2 separate regions of the Homo sapiens genome follow, and region 2 is linked to region 1. Evidence: promoter capture Hi-C in 16 types of primary human blood cells and fetal thymus (Javierre and others, 2016). All regions are on one chromosome and are shown on one strand. Each heading gives the region's core, a stretch centred on a gene start or on the middle of the fragment in contact. The rest is flanking DNA. Distances are from core to core; before and after follow the strand shown. Region 1 holds the start of CDH8 (cadherin 8). Region 2 overlaps LOC107984867 (a long non-coding RNA gene).

Region 1 (4,036 bases), core at 620-3,119:
TACTCTCGCTTACCTTCCCTAGCGTCCCCTCGTTCCCATTGTCAGCCCCCAGATATCATGACGCCAGGTGAAAGAAAGCAGCTGATCTGATTAGCAGCTCGGGCGCGCTAAGGGATTGTCGAATCATGCCTCCTAAGGAGGAAACTCTTGTGGAATCTTCAGGAAAGGGTGGTAAAGTTGAAAGGACCTTTCCTCCCTCCCGCTGTCTTGGTGATAAGCTCTATCGTTTAATTGGTGCTGAAGTGAGCAGCTGCCAGCCCGATTTTCCATTACGGACTAATATTGTGCGTTTGCAACAATAAACAATTAATGTGGTTTGATTTCTTACATTTAGCAACCCAAGCAAACAGCTGCCATCTCCGCTGGTGGAGGCAAACGGCTAGTCCTTGACATGCCGCCGGCTCCGTGCCTGCGGGGGAAGGGTCAACCGCAAGGAAACTTTGAGGATTCTGCCAGACTGGGTGGGGGAAGGCTCTGGTGTTTGGGAGGAATAAGCGGAGGAAATTGTGGATACCTGTTGGCATCAGCGTTGGCGGCAGCACGTTTTTTTACCGTTTCCCAGCCTTGGCTGGATCCTGGGAGAACCGGAGTAGGTCCCTTATGAACCTCTTACGTACTGGCAGAACCTAGGCAAGAGCCTTTTTCCCTCCGATCCTGCGAGGGGCGCGACCAGCCCCTCAAAGGTTCCCGGATGAGAAGCGGCCAGACCACAGAAAGCGCAGGTCTGGGCTCAGCTGTCCCTAGGAGAGCGGCTACGGAGTCCCCGGCTTAAGGGGGCCTCCGTGCACGCAATCTCGAGTTGCGGGGAGACACTGCCTGGGGGTCCTGCAGGGGTGCTGGGCAGCGTCTTGGCGAGGGCAGAGCCGCAGGGCGACTCCGGAGCCCGGCAAGTTTGTAGCGGGCACCGCACCTCCCAGAGCTGGAGCTGCCACTTGTGGGAAAGCCTCGCGCTGGGGCTTTCGCAGCTGAGCCTTGGCCCGCAGCCCTGCCGCGGGGGTCGCCCTCCCTCGCCTCGGAGATGAGGCGGTGCAGAAAACCAGCCATAGACCACTCGGGCCCCCTCGCCTCCTTTTTTCCCTGGCTTGCACCCTCCGCACAGCGGGCTGCAGGTGCTTCCCATTCACCGCACGGACCCCGCAGTGAAGGCGCGCGGCTGCAGCCGCGCCTGCCTGCGTTGGGAAGCGGCGAAATAGCCAAGTCGCCGCAGGGAAGGAAACCGGCAGGAAAACTGGAGGGGCACAGCCTGGAGCTTGCTACTCTCTAGGATCTGTTGTCAAAGCAGTTTGCAAAAACAGTCAGGCAAAACCTTGAGGCGTACGTACGTTATCACCCACGGATATCGCGAAAGACACAGCTTAGCCCAGAGCCTATGCTAAGAACCCTCATCCACCATCTGAGGGGCAGGAGGCGCGCAAGGTGTCCGAAGGGGCATGGGAATTCCTATAAGAAACGGTCCCTTCTGGATAGTCGGAACATAGAGGAAAACGGGGGTGGGTTAGGGGAACACTTACTCTTGTGGGGCCCTGCGCTGGCGAATGTCAAGCCTCCAGGTTCACAAATGGCTGGAGGTGCTCGGGGTTAGCTCCCGAGGGCGGCAAGCGCCGACCGGTCCTCGCTCGCTAGGCAGGCGCCTCCGGATTCCGTTCATGCCTCTCGGAGCTACAGGGCTTGGTGCGGAGACGCAGGGCGGGCGCGCTGGGCTCTGGGTGTCCGCAACCCAAAGTGCAGCTGGTGTCTTGACGCTACCGTCTATGCACAAGCCGGCGGCGGCGGCGGAGCTTGGAGGAGGCAGGGAGATTCCAAATAAATCCACTAATTCTGGGCTGAGCGCTCCGGCGTGCGAGCCCGCCTGCCTGCCAAATGTAACTGTGAAGTGATGTGGAAAAGTGAGCCGGGTGCCTCCCCTGACGGATCTCATTGGGCAGAGCGCAGAGGCAGGTCTACCACTTGGAAATTCATGTAAGCAGTCCCCCCTCCCCGCCCCCTCCCCGCCTTCCCCCTTCGCTCTCCCGCGCTGGCTCGATCGCTCTCTTTCCCCCTACCCAAGTGGGCGCACAACTTTTCGCTCCTCGCTCCCGAGCAAGCCCCGCGCGTCTCTGCCGCCAGAGCCACGAGGTGAAGATGCGCCCTTCCGCGCGGTGCGCGCAGCCCGCTGAGGACCGAGCTCCTGGATAAGTGGGCTGGCAGATAATAACAGCATGCGGATGAGGTACCTGCGAGCTTTCTCTCTAGAGGTCTCACCTGAGCTCTGGGGCTGGCGTTATGTTGAAAAGCGTCTCAGTGACCCGCAGCTATTTTCCGTAGGAGGAAGAGGACGCGACAGGGCAAAGGGTTGAGCGTGGGCAGCTTACCTCCTCTTTATTCCAAGGGCCTCTTGCGTACAGAATAGGGTGATTGTGAGACCCCTGCCTGCAACTCAGACGCTATGTAGAGGCTGTGTGTCGCGGTTCTGTGATGGAGCGCATTCCTGATGTCCCCGTGCTCCTTTGGGAAAATGGGATGAGGGACAGCAGAGTGGCAGCCAGGAGGGGCGCGCAGTAGTTGGTTGTGGGGAGGAGGGCAGGCAAAGCAGAACTTGCTTGGGAAATAGGGGAGGAATTTCTAGGTCTTCTCAATGTGCCCTGATCTTGTCATATCCTCTCAGATACCATCCTTGCGGTTCTCCTGCCTCCACCAAGACCTGCCCTGTCTGTGGTCACTTCAAGTCTTCTGATGGGCTGCGCTCAGATCTTGAGAAATGGCCACCCTGGGGTAAAAGGGACCATGAATCAGGAGGTCCAGATTTCTTTTCTTTTTCAACACTGGGGCTAACATGTAGACGATGCCACAGTCATCATCTTCTAATAAAATTAGATAAATATAAGACAAATAAATTCTTACCTTAAAAAAAAAAACCCTCCCCTCCACAGGAGATCCCGATTTAGTCCCTTCCCTGTGTGCACTAGACGTGAGCCTGAGGGTGGATTTTACCATCTGGGGACAGAGCAAGAACAGAAGGGGGAAAAAGGTGCAGGGGACAAGACGCACAGTCTGTAGAGCTTGTACTGTCTCACTCAAATTAATGAGAAAGAGTGAACAGAATGAGAAAATAGGCACAACATGCTTATGATATTTATGCAAATTTGACATTTTTTTGTGTGCTGCATCTGACAACCCATTGTGAAATGTGAAAAAGAGTATTGGCTGTAGCTCTAATATCTGATTGTTTCATGTTCTAGCTGTCATAGGCAAGAAACTTAGTGGATTATTTCAGAGAGGGAGAGGTGAAGAGAACCAAGTGGTATTTTTTTTCCCCCAGGCAGTCACTAAGTAACTGTTTGTTCTCTTCTCAGACTGTGTCTGCTTACAGGGTATTGGAATTGGCTAATTCTGTCTTGGAAAAAGGAGCAGCAGTCAAGGCTCAATCAAATTATAACTGCTGCTAGACCAGACAGTCCCAAGTGGACAAAGAAATAGATCACATTTTGGGTTGTGCTTAATTTCAGATATTCATTTTCACTTGAACAAATAATTTGAACCGTTCCTTGGGGTAACTTCTTACATCTATGAAAACTCAAAAAAACTCATGTGCTACTGAAAGCTGGGGATTGTCACAAGTAACAAACTTGTCTCAAAAAAAAAAAAAAAAGCCAGATTGTTAGACAATATCCTCAAATCTCATTTTCTTAACAAACTATGCTGACATAGTAAAGATAGTCAGAATCCAATGGCTTTTAAAGAGAGCCAGAATCCAATGGCTTTGGGTATCTAGGGTTAAGAAGAGTTTGCTTTGACTCATCTTGTCCATATTTACTCTTACAGCAGTTATATACATTGTCTTCCCTGAATTTTGGTCCTCTGGAATTCAGGGTAACCTGTCTATACCTGCTAATATCTGCTCAAAGCGTTACAATAGGAATTTCCTGACTAATTCTTAAGAGAGGTTTGGATGATTAAGCAGTGTGATAGAGGATTAGGATAATGTTAGAAAGCCCTATAAGGATATTTCTAAAATAATCAGGGATGCTGAAAGACAAGGCATTTATCTCTTTAACAA
Region 2 (4,202 bases), core at 1,062-3,561, 3.2 Mb before region 1:
TTAGAAATATGTCCTGAACTCATGGAAAAAGTTATGATAAACTGGGGTTTCTCAGGAAGCGGTGGAAGCAAATCTCCCTTCCACCAGCTATGGCCTTGCCCTTTTGTTGAGACAGTGAAAGAGTTGGCTATAAAAGTGAGAAAAGAGTGCTGGGATTGTCAACACGGAGCTCCAGGAAGGTTTTTATAGTGAGGGCAGTGAATGAAGCCTTGGAAAATGAATTAGATTTCTGTTTCTAGATGTGTGCTTCCTATCCCATCAAAAGCTTACTTCCCCTCTTGCTATAACATGAATAAAAAGAGGGCAACACATCTTCAGGAAACCTGGTACGCCAAGAAAAATCTTCACGGTGTTCTGGTTTCTTAGCTCCTGTTGCAGAGTGAAGAAATGAGTGCATTTTATTTTCTATTGGTTGTGAAAAAACCAAAGCCATAAATGGGTTAAAAATAAAATCAAATAAAACAAAATCCAGAATATCTGTGACTATGTCATTCTAGTTCTGGATACTGGATGAATCAGCAAATTGGTAGTATTAGGCTTCATAGTGTTTGCAAGGAGGTGGACTGTTTTCCCAGGGAGTTCTCAAGTTTAAACCCAGGAGGGTTATGAAGTCACATTGTTATTATAGTTTGAACACAGCAGTCCTGTCTTCCAGGACAAGAATCACAACTTTTTATGAGTGTTGAATCAAGAGGCAAGGGCCAACTTTTCAAGTAGTGGAAATGCTGCCTATTAAAGTTTATTAAAAACAGAGAAGTAAAAAGCCTAGTTATTCTTGTTTATGCTCTTGACTTCAAATTCCTCTCCAGAACCATCATCTGGATCTACAAACCCGTGTTTGTCCTTGCCAGCATTTCAACTGAATTAATATGAGTAAAACATACGACATCATCTCTTGAAAATATATGTTGTTTCTTGGAATTGAGTCTGGTGTGCCTTTGTTGGGGGCCATGTAGTCTGAATTCTCCCAAGAGAGGCTTAGACATGAACTTGAGTGGGTAGTTTACTAGGGAAGCAGGAATAAGGGAGTGGGAAGAGACAGACAGGGAATGAGAAAAATCAGTGCAAGCATTATCAAGGTCAGTGCTGTGGGGTGATGGGGATTCAATTCTGCTGGGAACGTCTGAGAAGGTTGCAGAATGCCTCTCTTATCCGAGGGGAGGGATGCTGGAGAATTCATCCACATACCTCATCCCCCATTGTTTGAGGTTGTCTTGAGGGTTGGAAAGCACGAACTTACCTGCAGTTTTATGTAGGCTAAGTGGCAACTTAAGGACTAGAGAACTTCCAGGGCAGACAGAGAACACAGTGCATCTTGAGGCAAGATGCTGCCTGTGATGTTAGCCTGAGTTCACATAAAACTGTCCACTCAGCTGCTACTGAATCACACGTAGATCAAGAGAGTGTGACTGCTGTAGTCTGCAACCACAAATGAGATATATATCTGTAAGTACAGTGTCAGGCTTGGGATGAATGGGCTCAGTTTACAAATACTGTCTTAGTCTGCTTTTGTGCTGCTATAAGAGAACACCATAGACTGGGTAATTTATAAGAAAATAGAAATTTATTTCTCACAATCCTAGAGGCTGAGAAGTCCAAAATCCAGGCATTGGTGAGGGCTGCATCCTCTGGAGGGAAAGAACACTATGTCCTTATATGGAGGAAGGTGAAAGGGCAAGCTAACTGAGTTCTGCATGGACTCTTTTATGAGAGCCTTAATCCCATTCAAGAGGGAGGAGCCCTCATGGCCTAACAACCTTAAAAAAATTTTTTTTTCAAATATATCTTATTTTAGATTTGGGGGTACATGTGCTTGTTTGTTACATGGGTATATTGCATACGAGTAGGGATTTGGCTTCTAGTGTACCCAATACCCCGATAATGAACATTGTACTGGATAGGTAATTTTCAACTCCCCCTCACACGCTCTCCCCCTCTTTGGACTCCCTAGTGTCTATGGTTTCCATCTTTATGACCATGAATACCTATTGTTTAGCTCCCACTTATAAGTGAGAACATTTGGTATTTGGTTTTCTGTTTCTGAGTTAGTTCACTTAGCATAATGGCCTTCAGTTCCATCCAAGCTGCTGCAAAAGACACTATTTCATTCTTTTTAGTGGCTGCATAGTATTCCATTTTGTATGTATACCACATTTTCTGGTCAACTGTTGATGGACAATTAGGTTGGTTCCATGAGTTTACTATTGTAAATAGTGCTGTGATGAACATATGAGTACAGGTGTCTTTTTTTATACAAAGACTTTTTTCCTTTGGGTAGATACTCAGTAGTGGGATTACTAGGCTGAATGGTAGTTCTATTTTTAGCTCTTTGAGAACTCTGCATACTGTTTTCCATAGTGATTGAACTAATTTATATTCTCAACAAAAATGTATGTGTTTCCTTTTCTCCACAGCCTTGCCAACACCTGTTATTTTTTGACTTTTTAGTAATATCCATTTTGATTGGTGTAAGATGATATCTCATTGTAGTTTTAATTTACATTTCTTTGAAGATTAGTTATGTTGAACATTTTCTTCATGTGTTTGTTGGCTGTTTGTATGTCTCCTTTTGAGAAATGTCTGTTTATGTCCTTTGCCCAGCTTTTTTTTAAAAACTTTTTTTTTAATATTTTAAGTTCCGGTGTACATGTGCAGAACGTGCAGGTTTGTTACATAGGTATACACATGCCATGGTGGTTTACTGCAACCATCAACCTGTCATCAACAGTAGGTATTCCTCCTAATGTTATCTCTCCCCCCTCCTCCTACCCTGCCAAAAGGCCCCGGTATGTGATGTTCCCCTCCCTGTGTTCATGTGTTCTCACTGTTCAACTCCCACTTATGAGTGAGAACATGCGGTATTTGGTTTTCTGTTCTTGTGATAGTTTGCTGAGAATGATGGTTTCCAGCTTCATCCATGTCCCTCCAAAGGACATGAACTCATCCTTTTTTATGGCTGCATAATATTCCATGGTGTATATGTGCCACATTTTCTTTATCCAGTTTATCATTGATGGACATTTGGGTTGGTTCCAAGTCTTTGCTATTGTGAATAGTGCCACAATAAACATACGTGTGCATGTGTGTTTATAGTAAAATGATTTATAATCTTTTGGGTATATACCCAGTAATGGGATTGCTGAGTCAAGTGGTATTTCTAGTTCTAGATCCTTGAGGAATCGCCACACTGTCTTCCACAATGGTTGAACTAATTTACACTCCCACCAACAGTGTAAAAGTGTCCCTATTTCTCCATATCCTTTCCAACATCTGTTGTTTCCTGACTTTTAAATGATCGCCATTCTAACTGGCATGAGATGGTATCTCATTGTGGTTTTGATTTGCATATCTCTAATGACCAGTGATGATGAGCATTTTTTCATATATCTGTTGGCTGCATAAATGTCTTCTTTTGAGAAGTGTCTGTTCATATCCTTTGCCCACTTTTTGATAGGGTTGTTTTTTTCTTATAAATTTGTTTAAGTTCTTTGTAGATTTTAGATATTAGCCCTTTGTCAGATGGATAGATTGCAGAAATTTTCTCCCATTCTGTAGGTTGCCTGTTCACTCTGATGATAGCTTCTTTTGCTGTGCAGAAGCTCTTTAGTTTAATTAGATCCCATTTGTCAATTTTGTCTTTTGTTGCCATTGCTTTTGGTGTTTTAGACATGAAGTCCTTGCCCATGCCTATGTCCTGAATGGTATTGCCCAGGTTTTATTGTAGGATTTTTATGATCCTAGGTTTTACATTTAAGTCTTTGATCCATCTTGAGTTGATTTTTGTATAAGGTGTAAGGAAGGGGTCCAATTTCTGTTTTCTGCATATGGCTAGCCAGTTTTCCCAACACCATTTATTAAATAGGGAATCTTTTCCCCATTGCTTGTTTGTGTCAGGTTTGTCGAAGATCAGATGGTTGTAGATGTGTGGTATTATTTCTGAGGCCTCTGTTCTGTTCCATTGGTCTATATCTCTGTTTTGGTACCAGTACCATGCTGTTTTGGTTACTGTAGCCTTGTAGTGTAGTTTGAAGTCAAGTAGCATGATGCCTCCAGCTTTGTTCTTCTTTGCCAGGATTTTCTTGGCTATGCAGGCTCTTTTTTGGTTCCATATGAAGTTTAAAGTAGTTTTTTCCAATTCTGTGAAGAAAGTCAGTGGTATATAGCTTGATGGGTATAGCATTGAATCTATAAATTACTTTGGC

The links. Contacts are between HindIII fragments. The CHiCAGO score rates a contact against its expected background, and 5 or more counts as called.
Region 2: a fragment that was not itself captured here is called in contact with the fragment with the promoter of CDH8 in region 1 in 3 of 17 cell types (M2 macrophages, M0 macrophages and M1 macrophages); the score reaches 11.9 in M2 macrophages.

What each region holds. Positions count from the first base shown.
Region 1 is chr16:62,034,569-62,038,604 of GRCh38, forward strand. CDH8 (cadherin 8) reads right to left here and starts at 1,870. Exons shown (of 12, transcript NM_001796.5): 1 at 1,512-1,870. LOC124903777 (a long non-coding RNA gene) reads left to right here and starts at 2,022. Exons shown (of 2, transcript XR_007065217.1): 1 at 2,022-2,209; 2 at 2,645-2,865. RefSeq lists an enhancer at 1-172. The HindIII fragment of the contact is 7,783 bases long and covers 1-4,036 here.
Region 2 is chr16:58,819,928-58,824,129 of GRCh38, forward strand. The region is part of intron 2 of LOC107984867 (a long non-coding RNA gene); the gene reads left to right. Among named protein-coding and RNA genes, the nearest start is that of GOT2, 88 kb to the left of the region's middle. The HindIII fragment of the contact is 4,096 bases long and covers 264-4,202 here.